Regions from separate parts of the Homo sapiens genome. Here region 1 is linked to region 2. The links are contacts of gene promoters, found by promoter capture Hi-C in blood cells and fetal thymus (Javierre and others, 2016). All regions are on one chromosome and are shown on one strand. Each heading gives the region's core, a stretch centred on a gene start or on the middle of the fragment in contact. The rest is flanking DNA. Distances are from core to core; before and after follow the strand shown. Region 1 holds the start of BCAT2 (branched chain amino acid transaminase 2). Region 2 holds the start of TEAD2 (TEA domain transcription factor 2).

Region 1 (6,771 bases), core at 454-2,953, 550 kb after region 2:
GACGCAGAAGGCCCTCTTACTCTTGGCCCTCAGGGAAAAGGAGTTTTCCTCTCACTGCCTGTAGAATAGGAAGGTGGCTGGCAAGAAAAGTCCAAAGGGAAGAGAAAGTAGGGGGTTGAGACATCTGGATCAGAGGGAGGAGGGGCTGAAACTCCTGGGTTTTGGTCCGCAGGGCACTGGGGGACGCAGACTCCCCAGCTGGACCCAGGGGGGGGGCAGGGCCCGGGTGCGCTGGCGTCCCCCAGGTGAGGGGTGGAGCTGCAGGGCTGCTGCGGATTGGCTGTGGCCGGGGGGGCGTGTGCACCAACCGCTGATTGGCCGCGGCGGGGGCGGGAGCTGTCAGTGGGCCCCGACCCTACAGCCCGGGGCTGGCGGGTGGGGCAGGAGGACTGGGGCGGAGCGCAGAAAAACAGGGCGACGCCCTGTGAGGGAAGGGTCCCGCGGTTTGGCTGTTTGGGCCTGTGGCTGTTAGGGGTGGCAGGATAGTGACCCGGGGACAGGACTTGGGGGCACTGTGGGGGTAGAATTTGGAGACAGAGTGTCCCAGGGTAGGATTGCCGAGACACGATGGCCGAGGGATACGATTTTTTTTTTTTTTTTTTAATTTGAGACGGAGTCTCACTCTGTCGCCCAGGCTGGAGTGCTGTGGTGCAATGTCGGCTCACTGCAACCTCCGCCTCCCGGGTTCAAGCGATTCTCCTGCCTCAGCCTCCCGAATAGCTGGGATTACAGGCCCCCGGCACCACGCTCGACTAATTTTTGTATTTTTATGTATTTATTTTTATTTATTTATTTATTTTGAGACGGAGTCTCACCCTGTCACCCAGGCTGGAAATGCAGTGGCGCGATCTCGGCTCACCGCAACGTCCGCCTCCAGGGTTCAAATGATTCTCCTGCCTCAGCCTCCCTAGTAGCTGGGATTACAGGCGCACACCACCACACCCGGCTAATTTTTGTATCTTTAGTAGAGACGGGGTTTCACCATGTTGGTCAGGCGGGTCTTGAACTCCTGACCTTGTGATCCGCCCACCTCGGCCTCCCAAAGTGCTGGGATTACAGGCGTAAGCCACCGTGCCTGGCCTTAATTTTTGTATTTTTAGTAGAGACGGGGTTTCCCCATGTCGGCCAGGCTGGTCTTGAACTCCTGGCCTCAGGTGATCCACCCGCCTTGGCCCCCAAAGTGCTGGGATTACAGGTGTGAGCCACCAAGCCAGGACTTTTTTTTTTTTTTTTTTTTGAGACGGAGTCTCACTCTGTCGCCCAGGCTGGAGTGCAGTGGCATCATCTCGGCTCACTGCAACCTCTGCCTCCCCGATTCAAGCAATTCTCCTGCCTCAGCTTTCCGAGTAGCTAAGATTACAGGCGCCCGCCACCACGCCCGGCTAATTTTTTGTATTTTTAGTAGAGACGGGGTTTCATCATGTTGGACCAGGCTGGTCTCTAACTCCTGACCTCAGGTAATCCGCCCGCTTCGGCCTCCCAAAGTGCTAAGATTACAGACCTGAGCCACTTCGCCTGGCAGGGACCGTATTTCAAGTCCTGCCCTCCCACCAGCGCCTGCGCCCCGCAGCAGTGTCCGGCTCCCTGCCGACGCCCTGGAGCTGGGACGGCCTGGGGCGCTGGTCGGCCGCCTTCCCCCAGAAGGAGGCGTGAGCGGGGCGTGGCCGGAACGTCTCTCTTCGGAGCCGCGCCCCGGGCGGGCACAGTTACGCGCCGCACGGATCATGGCCGCAGCCGCTCTGGGGCAGGTGGGTTCGCAGCCCCGCGCCGGGGTCTGGGAAATAACCGGGGGAGGCGCACTTCCGGGAAGACCACTGGCCTGCAGCCGGTCCGACTCGGCGCCGCTCCTCCCGCCCTGGGGTTCCGCTGCAGGGCGCGGAGGAGGATGGCGCCCTTTGGAAAGGAGCACGAGGCTTTAATGGGGTGAGGGGGAGCAGGTAGACGCGGATGAGGTGGGGCAAGTAATTGGCGGGGAGGTAAAAAAAAAAAAAAAAAGGGAAACATGGTGGAGGACCCTGTAATGAGGGAGGCGTGGGGGTGGGGAGGTTGTGATTTGGGGAGCGGAGCCCTGGGGTGCGGTGGGGCATCAGCCTGTGCGGGAGCTGGAATAAAGGGGCCCAGACCTCCAGGGCCGGGTGCAGGTGAAGGCAGAGTTGGACCTCAAGTCTCAGCTCTGGGAATTGGACTCAAGGTCCTATTTTCTTGGAATGAAAGTTGAAAAAAATAAGAGATGGGGATTGCTGTGCTTCCCAAACTCCTATCTGAAGCTTTGCACCTGGATTGGAAATCGAGGCAGCGTCTCATGGTCAAAGTGACAGATGCTGCAGGCTGGCTGAGACGATCCCTTCTGACTGTGCGATGTCAAACAGCAGCAGCGTTTCCCAGAGTCTATGATTTCAGAGAACAAGGTTTCTCAGTGAGGAAGGAAACAGCCAAAGAAAGGGGTCATTACAAGCCTTCACAGCTGCGGTGTAACCTTGGGAGAACTGTCTGTTAACTTTACACCTGACTTTATTTGAGTCTCTTATCCTAGCTGATGAATGTCAGGGCAGAATTTCACTTTTTTCGGCTCTTAGTGACTGATAGGGATAGTCCTGGGATACCTGGGGTATGTGGGCAATCTGGGCTTTAGTGGTGACACTCCTGGACTGTGGTGGGGCAGTACTGGGCTTTGACAGGTCCACTTGGGACTGATGTGGACCGTCTCATCATGGCACAGTTCTGGTGTCATAGAATGGCCCTGAACTCATGATGGGACATTCCTAGGCTCTGATGAAGATAGAGATATCCTGTAATGGAGATAATTGGGCTGAGTCCTCAGCTGTGATGGGGACAGTCCCGGGGTGTGGAGAGGACAGTGCTGGACCATGGTAGGGACAGTCTGGAAGGTACTGGCCTAGACAGCAACATAGGGATAGTCCTGGGGATTGAAAAAGACAACAATGGGATTTTTTTTTTTTTTTTAATTTCAGACCTGGTGAATAGGAAATAAGCCCTGATATTTGGCAGAGACAATGCTGGTTATAATGGGGAAAAGTGCTGGGCTTTGGATAGGGGACATTCCTGAGCTGTTTGGGACAGTACTTGGCTCTGCTGGGGACCAGTTCTGATAAGTTACAGGCACAATCTGGACTTGTGATGTGGAGCATCTTGGGCCATCATAGAACAGCCCTGGTCTGTGATGGGGGAGAGTCCTGGGCTATAAAGGGGGCAGTTCTAGACGTGATGGGGTCATGTGTGGGCTGTGACAAGGGCAGACTGCGGTATGATGGGGTCTCTCCGGGGCCGTGATATGGGGACAGTCCTGGAGTATGGAGGGCACTGCTGGGCTTTGACAGTGACACTCCTGGTCTTTGATGGTGATACTCCTGGGCTGTATGGGACATAATGGAGGTTCTATCACATTATAGAGACCTGCCCTGTGAACCCCCAAACGTACTTTATTTCTTTGTCTCGTCTTTTCTTTTTGACCGAGTCTTGCTCTGTTGCTCAGGCTGGAGTGCCGTGGCACGATCTCGGCTCACTGTAACCTCCGCCTCATGGGTTCAAGTGACTGTGGTGCCTCAGCCTCCCGAGTAGATGGGCTCAAGCGATCCACCTGCCTCAGATTACAGGCATGAGCCACCATGCTGGTCTTTTTTTTTTTTTTTTTTTTTTTTTTTTTTGAGAGACACTCTATCACTCATGCTGGAGTGTAGCAGTGTGATCGTAGCTCACCACAGCCTTGACCAGTAGGTCAAGGTGATCCTCCCACCTTAGCCTTCTGAGTAACTGGAATTACAGGTGTGTGCCACCATACCTGGCTAATTTTTAAATTGTTTGTAGAGACAGGGTCTTGCTATATTGCCCAGGCTGATCTTGAACTCCTGGCCTCATGCAGTCCTCCCACCTCTGTCTCCTAAAGTGCTGTGATTACAGGCATGAGCTACTGAGCCAGCTGCCTACTTTCTTTCTTTGTTTTTTTTCTTTTTAATTGAGACAGAGAGTCTTGCTCTGTCGCCCAGGCTGGAGTGCAGTGGCACCATCTCGGCTCACTGCAACCTCCGCCTCCTGGGTTTAAGCAATTCTCCTGCCTCAGCTTCCCAAGTTGCTGGGACTACAGGCGCCCGCCACCACACCCAGCTAACTTGTATTTTCTGTAGAGACAGGGTCTCCCTATGTTGCCCAGGCTGGTCTTGAACACCTGGCCTCAAGCTATCCTCCTGCCTCGGCCTCCCACAGTGCTGGGATTACAGGCGCGAGCCACTGCGTGTGGCCTCTTTCTATGATTAGATCTATTTTGGCATCTCTTGTTTCTTGGCGTCAATTTCTGTTTTTGTTTTTTTTTTTTTCTGTTTGTGCGCCCCTTTCTGTGTTTCTTTTTCTCATCCTTCCTCTTCCATCTCTTACTCTCTTTTTTTCATCTTGGCTCTGAGGGCAGCTCTCCTGCCCACAGGCTGGCTGTCGCACTGTGTTTGTGTCTCTCATACTGTGGGTGTCCTATCCCTCTGGGCAGAAGCATGGCTGCAAGGCTGAGCAGTCTAGATGTCGCCACCCAAAGGCAATCTGGGGACCCACGCTCTGATCACCCCGGAATCCCTGGAGCCTCACACCAGCAAGACCACGCTGCAGGCCCATCTCCCAGCAACTCACCTAGCGACAAGTGACCACGCCCATTCACGTCCATCTTCCAGAATCAGTGCCAACTCACCCAGCTCACAGGGCAGGCCAGGCCAGGCCACTCTGTCTCTCTCAACCTCACGCCCCAACGCCTCCCCACAGGGCTGGGGAAAGAGGCCTTGTGAGGTCAAAGGTCACCAGAGAGGGCCCAGCCTGCTGGACACAGCCAGACCTGCTCTTCCTACTCCCCTCTGGGAGGACCCGCCTGAGCCTCATGCAGTGAGGACTGCAGTGGCTCCCCAGGCCCCTGTAGCTGCCCCTCAGCCCCAGGGGCTGAAGGGAATTGGAGTCACTGCCAAAATGGGTTTGTATTTCAGGTAATCAGAGCCCAGTTGATCGAATACCTTCAGAGAATAAGCACCTGTACTCCTGGGTCTGGCGGAGGAGGGGCTGGGGAACTGGACTCCTGGGTCTGAGGGAGGAGGGGTGGGGCCTGTACTCCTGGATGTAAGGGAGGAGGGTCTGAGGCCTGGACTCCAGGGTCTGAGGGAGGAGGGGCTGGGGGCCCAGACTTCGGGTCTGAGGGAGGAGGCAGCTAGAGTCTGGACTCTTACTTAGGTCTGAGGGAGGCGGGCCTGGGGTCTGCACCCCTGAGCTCTGGGGGAGCAGGACCTGTCGGTCCTTGGTCTTCTAAGGCCTGTCAGCACTTGGGTACCCGGAGGCCTTCACTTACCTGTGTGCCTTCCCTGGTTGTTTTCTTGTCTGAGCTGATCTCCAGGCTGCGACCAAAGGTCTCTGGGGTGGGAGGCGCTTGCGTTTGACTTTGCCGCAGCATGGAGGAGGGGGCGGGAGCTGACTCAGCTCTTTCCAGCGAGCCCTCGTCAGGGCAGGGAGGGGACTTGGCCTCCTTCAGGACCACCTGCCCCGTCTAGAATGGACTGAAACTGGGACAGAACAGGCAGGCCAGTGGGACCTCCAAGTGCAGGAGGTGGCGAGCGAGCTGCCAGGGCCCCTGCTGTGCCCCACTCACCCCCTCTCTCACTTCTTTCTCCACCCAGATCTGGGCACGAAAGCTTCTCTCTGTCCCTTGGCTTCTGTGTGGTCCCAGAAGATATGCCTCCTCCAGTTTCAAGGTGAAAGGAGGGAACTCGATGCTTGGCTCTGAGAGAGGAGGGGGCTGGCAGCTGGTTTTGGGCATCTCCAAAAGGTCCACAGCCCAGAGATGGCAGTGAGTGGTGGTAGCTTAACAGCCTGCCATTGGGCCGCAGACAAGGGATGAAACTGCATGTCCCAGAATCCTCCAGGGTGACAGGTCCTTCTTCTCTATGGGTCTGAGGCCCAGGGCTTCATGGGAGTTGTAGTTTTTCAGCTGGGAGGTTGTGGCCAGATTCTAGGATACCCCTGTCTTTCCTCAGGCTGCAGACCTGCAGCTGGAAATGACACAGAAGCCTCATAAGAAGCCTGGCCCCGGCGAGCCCCTGGTGTTTGGGAAGACATTTACCGACCACATGCTGATGGTGGAATGGAATGACAAGGGCTGGGGCCAGCCCCGAATCCAGCCCTTCCAGAACCTCACGCTGCACCCAGCCTCCTCCAGCCTCCACTACTCCCTGCAGGTGGCATGGCGGCCGGCCTCTCTCCCTGTCCCTGTCTGCATCTCCTCCTCCTTGCTGTGTCTCTTGCCAGGTGTACCTCTCTTGGTTTGTTTGTTGTGTGTTTCTCCTTTCTGTGCATTCACCATTTGTTTTCTGAGGCCTTCCATGCTCCAGGCTCATGCTTGGTGATGCTGGGTTCCCCGAGATGAGCAGACCCGGTTCCTTCACTTGGAAAACCCCATGCTGTGGGCATAACTCAGTATGATCTGTGCTCTGATGGAGGCCCTGTGGAGGCCAGTAGAGACCCCCAGCCTCACTTGAAAGAAAGCATGGCTTCTTCTGGCATAGAGGGAAGCTTAGAGGGGGATGGTGGGAGAGGTGACAGGGTGATGGTAGGAAAGGGGACAGCCGGGGGGCTGGCGGGAGAGGGACAGCCAGGATGATCGCGGGAGAGGGGACAGCCATTGGGGGGGGAGATGGTGGGGGAGGGCACAGCCAGGGGGATGGCTGGAGAGGGGACAGCCAGGGGAGGGATGGCGGGAGAGGGGACAGTCAGGGGAGGGATGGCGGGAGAGGG
Region 2 (7,034 bases), core at 1-2,500:
CCCACGTCAGTTGACCTCAGTCCTGGAGACCAAGTCCTGGAAGTCCTGGCGGTGTTCTCTGATTGCGGCCCTCGTTTCGGAGTCCCGCCCAATCGCAATGGCCACGCCCCTTGGCTGAAAGCCACGCCCCTGCACTGGGCCACGCCCCTGCACTGGACCACGCCCCTGCGTCCCAGATCTTGCCCTCATCACCCCAAGTTCCAGTCCTAGGCTCCTCCTACTGGAGACACCGGAGTACAAGCATCCCTTTTAGCTCTCACTCTAATTGTGTATCTGTTTCGGAACCTTTTCTCCGTGTCCCTTCTGGTTTTCCCGCTCCCGCTCCACTAAAAAGTCCCGTTGTCTCCGGAAACCCTAAATCCAGTCTTATATTTCATCTTCCAAGGAACCCAGAATCAGACTTCCTTTTCCCTGAGGACCTCAGGTCCGGACTCCCGCCCCCTCTAGTCCCGTAATTTTGAACACGCAGCCTTTCACCCTTAAGGGACCGGGCCCTAAGCCATCTTCCCTCAGGCACCAAAGCTCTCTTCCCCGTCCCGGGACAGCCGCCAGCCGTCTCCAGTCCACTAGCGCCTGTAGATGAGGAATCTGCACCTACGTGGGCCTCCAATAAACTCCCGGTGGTCCTGCCCACGACTCTTAACTGTGGTGAGGTCACAAGGAAACCAGGTCGTCATAGGAATCAGTCAAAACCCATCCCCAGACCCCAATCCTCAAAAAAAAAAAAAAACAAAAAAAACAAAAAACAAAAAAACCAAAAACCAAACAGAAAAAAAGAAAAAAAACCTCAGGGCTTAACAGTAAAGACTCTTTGTATTCGTATCACTTCCGCACCCCCAATACACAAACACGAGGGTAGCCGGGATTCCAGGCGCCTAGCCCCGTCCCCTCTCAGACCTAGGAGCCCATATCTCTCTCCAGCCGCTTCCTCTCCCAGACCCAGGAGTCCCAGCCCCCAGACCCAGGAGTCCCAGCCCCCAGCCTCTCCTCCCTCAGATCAGGGGTTTCTGGCTCCTATCAGCCTTTTCCCTCCGACTTGGAGTCCGAACCCCCAATCCCCCTCCTTTCCCAAGCACCCAAATCCTGAGTTCCTACCAGCCCCGAGATAGACTAATCTCTCCCAAAGCAAAAATCCTTCCCCAAACTGTCACCGTCGGATCCCCCTTCCCGCTGTCCGCCGGCCGGGCCCGCCCCCCCCTCCGGTCCCTCCCACTTTTCCCAAACAAAGCTCCCGGCAACTTTCTCCCTCGCAGCGCCCCGCCCGCCCGCGGCTCCCCAGCCCCAGGCCGGGAGGTAGGAAGGCGCCGGCGGGAGTCGGGGATCCTGCTTTGGGGTGTGTGAGTTGGGGTGGGGAGTTGCTTCTTAGGAGGTGAGGCGTGCGTTTGCGGGACCGTCTCTGAATGGTTCGCAGCCCTCTTTTTGCCCGGGGGCCCGAATTTGCTCCCGTGACCGAGCCTCAGTGAGGAGTGGGAACTCTGGCCGGAGTTAGGGTGCCTGCGGCTGGGTCTGAGTTTGGGCGTGCGCGCAGGAGCGGGTGCGGGCCAAGGGCGCTGGCGGGGTGTGGGGCGTGCGTCTGCGGCGGTGTCACTTTGGAGTGAGAAGGACCCCTTGTGTAATCTGGGGGGCATTTGGTCCTTCTTACGGAGAAGGGAGGGCCTCTGGGGTGGCCGAGGGGAGGTTACGGGGCTTTCTGGATCTTAAGTCTTGCCTCTTTGGAGGTTTAGGGTCTGGGGCGGGAAATTAGGGGGACCTTTCTTACCCGGCTCCACCGTCCCTTTGTCTGGCCACATGGGGAAGGGCTGGGCTGGGATTTTGGCCTACGGGGGTCCTGAACGCCGCAGCGCCACTGGGCTTGGCTGGGGTCTTTGTCTGCTATGGTCGGCGGGAGGAGGGGAATAGGGGCCTGGACTCTGGGGTCCTGGGAAAGCTGTGGAGGACATGGAGCCTCCGGGGAGGCGGGATCTGACTGTATTGGAAAAAGTTTTCCCTGTTCCCGGCCTCCGGAAAGTCACTGGGAACTTGAGTTGGATCAGAGCCCACGGCGCACGGGGGAGGGGAGGGGCGGGGCCCGGTGCCGGAGGGGAGTCGCCCTGGCCGGCAAGCCCCTCCCCTGATGGGGGTTGTGGGAAGCTGGGGGAGGGGACGCCTGGGCCCTTTGTTCTGGCTCTTCTGATGGCAGGGCGCCCCTGTCCCCCAGCTTGTGGTTCTGTGGGTCTCTCCTGGTCTCGGCCTCAGCTGCTGCCCTGAGTCTCTGTCCCTGCCCTTTCTAGGTCTCCGTCTCCCTTTCTCTGGGTCTCTGTTGCCCTCTCTCTGAGCCTCTGTCCCCCTCTCTCTGAGTCTGTGTCCCCCTCTCTCTGGGTCTCTGGTCCCCTCTCTCTCTGGGTCTCTGTCCCTCTCTCTCTGGGTCTCTGTCCCCCTCTCTCTGGGTCTCTGTCACCCTCTCTCTCTGGGTCTCTGTCTCCCTCTCTGGGCCTCTGGACCCCTCTCTCTGGTCCCTGTCCCCCCCCCCCGGTCTCTGTCCCCCTCTTTCTGGTCTCTGTCTCCCCCTCTCCCTGGGTCTCTGTCTCCCTCTCTTTTTGGGTCTCTGTCCCTCTCTCTGGGTCTCTGTCCCCCTCTCTGGTCTCTGTCCCCCCCTCCCTCTGGTCTCTGTCCCCCCCTCCCTCTGGTCTCTGTCCCCCTCTCTCTCTGGGTCTCTGTCCCCTCCGTCACTGGTCTCTGTCCCCCCCTTCACTGGGTCTCTGTCCCCTTCTCTCTCTGGTCTCTGTCCCCCTCTGTCTCTGGGTCTCTATCCCCACCTCACTGGTCTCTGTCCCCCTCTCTCTCTGGTCTCTGTCCCCTTCTCTCTCTGGGTCTCTGTCCCCCCCCCTTGCTGGTCTCTGTCCCCATCCCCTCTCTGGGTCTCTGTCCCCCTCCCTCTCTGGGTCTCTGTCCCCCTCTCTCTAGACCTCCCCTCAGTCTTGCTTGGCCCCTCTTCTTTTCTGGCAGCTGCTGCTCACATCTTACCACCTGTTCTTGGGGTGGGACAGGGGAAGTTTCACCCACACCTTCCTTCCCCACCACTAACTTTTGCCTCCTGTCTTCTTTAAAACCCGTAATTCATACCCGAACCTTTAGCCTTCATGGCCCTCGGCATTACTCTAGGGTAATCATTGTGACTTCATCACAATTGAGTTCCTCTGGAAACTCTGAGAACACTCCCATCCTCAGCTTTCCAAGAAATCCAGCTCCTTCTCCTCCCTCAGACTCAGGAGTCCAGACCCCAGCCCCTTCTCCCTCACACCCAGGAGTCCAGGCCTCCAGCCCCCGCTCCCTCAGACCCAGGAGTCCAGGCCCCAGATCCTCCTCCCTCAGTCCTAGGAGTCCGGGCCCCAGCCCCTCCTCCCTCAGACTCAGGAGTTCAGGCCCCAGATCCTCCTCCCTCAGACCCAGGAATACCCCCCAGCTCCTCTTCCCTCAGACCCAGGAGTCCAGGTCCCCAGCCCCTCCTCCCTCAGACCCAGTGGTCCAGAGTCCCAGCCCTCTCAGCTTCAAGTCCCTTGAGGGTGGGGTTTGGGGGAAGCTTGCTGAGTTCTGTGTTCCTCCAGGCCCAGATGGGGGAACCCCGGGCTGGGGCCGCCCTGGACGATGGCAGCGGCTGGACGGGCAGTGAGGAAGGCAGTGAGGAGGGTACCGGCGGCAGTGAGGGGGCTGGGGGTGACGGGGGCCCGGATGCAGAGGGGGTGTGGAGCCCAGACATTGAGCAGAGCTTCCAGGAGGCCCTGGCCATCTATCCACCCTGCGGCCGCCGGAAAATAATTTTGTCTGATGAAGGCAAGATGTATGGTGAGTCTACTTCTGTCTTTTGCCCTGGCCCCCACTGATGAATAATGACAGTAACCAAGGTTTATGGAGCACTCTGAAGTAGGAGCTAGCATCACCATTTGCACAGATGAGGAAACTGAGGCACAGCTAGGTTAAGTGATTTGCTTATGGTCGCACAGAGCCAGTGCGTGATGGAGCTGGGATTTGAACCCAAGCAGTCTGGCTTCCACGTAGCTGAGGGGACCGGCAGCCCACTTGCTGCAGACCTTTGGGGACCCATGCTGCTTTCTTCTTCCCTGGTGTCCATGCTGTGGGGAAGTTCTGTTGAAAGTCTAACTAACTCTGTTCCGTCTTTGAATCTTCAGGTCGGAATGAACTGATCGCCCGCTACATCAAGCTGAGAACGGGGAAGACCCGAACTCGAAAACAGGTCTCGGAATGGACTTGTGGGCTTCTGTCTGGGATGGGCCGGTCTTCTTAGGGTCATCCTCGCATGGGCAGGTTCAGGTTCAAGGAAGAAGCTGCTTCCTGTGCGTTCATCTGTCTTCTCGGCATGTGTGTTAGTCCGTTTGTATTGCTATAAAGAATTACCCGAGGCTGGGTTATTTATGTATTTGTTTATTTTTTGAAATGGAGTCTAGCTCTGTTGCCCAGGCCGGAGTGCAGTGGCGCGATCTTGGCTCACTGCAACCTCTGCCTCCCGGGTTCAAGCAATTCTCCTGTCTCAGCCTCCCGAGTAGCAGGGATTACAGACATGCACTACCATGCCTGGGTAATTTTGTATTTTTAGTAGAGATGGGGTTTCACCATGTTGTCCAGGCTGGTCTCGAACTCCTGACCTCAGGTGATCCACTCACCTCAGCCCCCCAAAGTGCTGGGATTGCTGGGATTACAGGCGTGAGCTACTGTGCCTGGCAAGGCTGGATAATTGATAAAGAGCTTTAGGCTGGGCCAGTGGCTCATGCCTGTTATCCCAGCACTTTAGGTGAGCGGATCAGGAGGTCAGGAGATCGAGACCATCCTGACCAACATGGTGAAACCCCGTCTCTACTAAAAATACAAAAATTAGCTGGGAGTGGCAGTGTGTGCCCATAATCCCAGCTACTCGGGAGGCTGAGGCACGAAAATCGCTTGAACCCGGGAGGCGGAGGTTGCAGTGAGCCAAGATCGTGCTACTGCACTCCAGCCTGGTGACAGAGCCAGACTCCACCTCAAAAAAAAAAAAAAAGAAAGAAAGAAAGAAAAGAGCTTTATTTTGGCTCACAGTTCTGCAGGCTGTCCAGGAAGCATGGAGCTGGCATCTGCTCCTGGTGAGGCCTCAGGAAGCCTCCAATCATGGCGGAGGGGGTAGTGGGAGCAGGCCTGGCACATGGAAAGTGGGAGCAACAGAAGAAAGACAGAGGTCCCAGACTCTTTTTAAACACCCAGATCTTTTTGTTGTTGTTGTTTTTGAGAGAAAAGTCACTGTGTCTCCCAAGCTGGAGTGCAGTGCCGTGATCTCAGCTCACTGCAGCCTCCGCCTTCCGGGTTCAAGCGATTCTGCTGCCTCAGCCTTCCAAGTATCTGGGATTACAAGCATGCGCCTCCACATCTGGCAAATTTTTATTTTTTCATTTTTTAAATATTTTTTTGAGACGGAGTCTCGCTCTGTTGCCCAGGCTGGAGTGCAGTGGCGTGATCTTGGCTCACTGGAAGCCCCGCCTCCCGGGTTCAAGCGATTCTCTTGCTTCAGCCTCCTGAGTAGCTGGGACTACAGGCGCGCACCACCACACCTGGCTAATTTTTTGTATGTTTAGTAGAAGTAGGGTATCGCCATGCTGGGCAGGCTGGTCTCGAACTCCTGACCTCAGGTGATCCACCCGCCTCGGCCTCCCAAAGTGCTGGGATTACAGCTGAGCCACTGAGCCCAGCCCTAATTTTTGTGTTTTTAGTAGAGACAGGGTTTCACCATGTTGGCCAGGCTGGTCTTGAACTCCTGACCTCCAGTGATCTGCCCATCTAGGCCTCCCAAAGTGTTGGGATTACAGGCGTGAGCCACCACACCTGGCCTAAACAACCAGATCTTGTGTGAACTGAGTGAGAAGTCACTCATCATCAAGGAGATGGTGCAAAGCCATTCATGAGGGGTTCACCTCCATGATCCAATACCTCCCACCAGGCCTCACCTCCAACACTGGAGATGGCATTTCAATATGAAATTTGGAAGGGACGAATGTCCGAACTGTATCAGCATGTCTGTTCGTGTGCTCTCACTGTGCCTGTTTGGGGATAGTTTTTCTAGTGGTTGTGTTAGACCCAGAGTAGCCACAGAGAGAGCATGGTGGAGGGGAAGGAGGCCTGGATGGGATGGGTCCCGGGAGGGTCCGTGGTGTTCACGAGCTCCTTTATGGACATCTGTGTTCGGGTGCTCCCGAGATGGCTCTCATCTTCAGTGTGTTTTTCACCTTTCATGGTCCAGCAGCTCAGTGAGGCACCTGGAGGGAGAGAAGGGGTAGTGAACACAGGGGCGGTGGCTGTGGCCTGAATCTGCTTCTCCGTTGATCCTTCCAGGTTTCTAGTCACATCCAGGTTTTGGCCCGAAGGAAATCAAGGGAAATCCAGTCCAAGTTGAAGGTAGGGACCAATGCAGACATCCTGAGAGGGGGACAGAGACTGGGGGTGGGGGACCGAGACCCAGAAAGAGAGGGACAGAGACCCAGGGAGAGGGGGACAGAGACTTAGAGCGGGGAGGACTGAGACCCAGAGAGAAAGGGACAGAGACCCAGGGAGAGGGGGACAGAGACTTGGGGGAGGGGACCAAGACCCAGAGAGAGAGGGACAGAGACCCAGAAAGAGAGGAGGACAGAGACCCAGAGAGAGAGGGACAGAGACCCATAGACAGAGGGGGACAGAGACCCAGAGACAGAGGGAGACAGAGACCCAGAGACAGAGGGGGACAGAGACCTCAGGTGAGGGACCTCTGTGGTCAGGGCGGGGGGTGCAGTCATCCAGGGTGGGGAGTCAGTGGCCCACAAAGGGAGATGCATAGGGATGGTGGTGCGGTTGCTGAGACCCTGGGCAGGGAGCGATGGCATGGAGGAGGCTGAAGGTTTTGCTCAGGACAGCAGGAAGGATGGGCCGTCGGTCCCCTCCCTTGACCACTGTTCCTGTCCCCCTCCCTTCCCTCTGCTCCTGTCCCTCCTTTCCCTCTTCCTGGCGGTCTCATATCTTCCCCCTCTTGTGCTGTGAAGGCC

What was found. The method cuts DNA at HindIII sites, captures the fragments that hold promoters and counts their contacts. A CHiCAGO score of 5 or more calls a contact.
Region 1: a contact is called between the fragment with the promoter of BCAT2 here and the fragment with the promoter of TEAD2 in region 2, in 2 of 17 cell types (naive CD8 T cells and M1 macrophages). The highest score is 5.5, in naive CD8 T cells.

Annotation. Positions count from the first base shown.
Region 1 is chr19:48,805,961-48,812,731 of GRCh38, reverse strand. It overlaps BCAT2 (branched chain amino acid transaminase 2), which reads left to right and starts at 1,703. Exons shown (of 11, transcript NM_001190.4): 1 at 1,703-1,748; 2 at 5,658-5,732; 3 at 6,015-6,215. The coding sequence starts at 1,725. LOC105372432 (a long non-coding RNA gene) reads right to left here and starts at 5,363. Exons shown (of 3, transcript XR_936017.4): 1 at 5,333-5,363; 2 at 4,633-4,763; 3 at 1,895-2,388. RefSeq lists silencers at 128-437, 1,514-1,733, a cis regulatory region at 84-624 and enhancers at 1,486-1,780, 2,054-2,123, 5,569-6,240. The HindIII fragment of the contact is 3,241 bases long and covers 1-2,269 here.
Region 2 is chr19:49,356,632-49,363,665 of GRCh38, reverse strand. It overlaps TEAD2 (TEA domain transcription factor 2), which reads left to right and starts at 1,250. Exons shown (of 13, transcript NM_001256660.2): 1 at 1,250-1,333; 2 at 3,585-3,822; 3 at 4,167-4,231; 4 at 6,352-6,414. The coding sequence starts at 3,591. It also overlaps a transcript of DKKL1 not described here. RefSeq lists enhancers at 1,457-2,165, 2,166-2,875, 3,421-3,921. The HindIII fragment of the contact is 6,430 bases long and covers 1-3,561 here.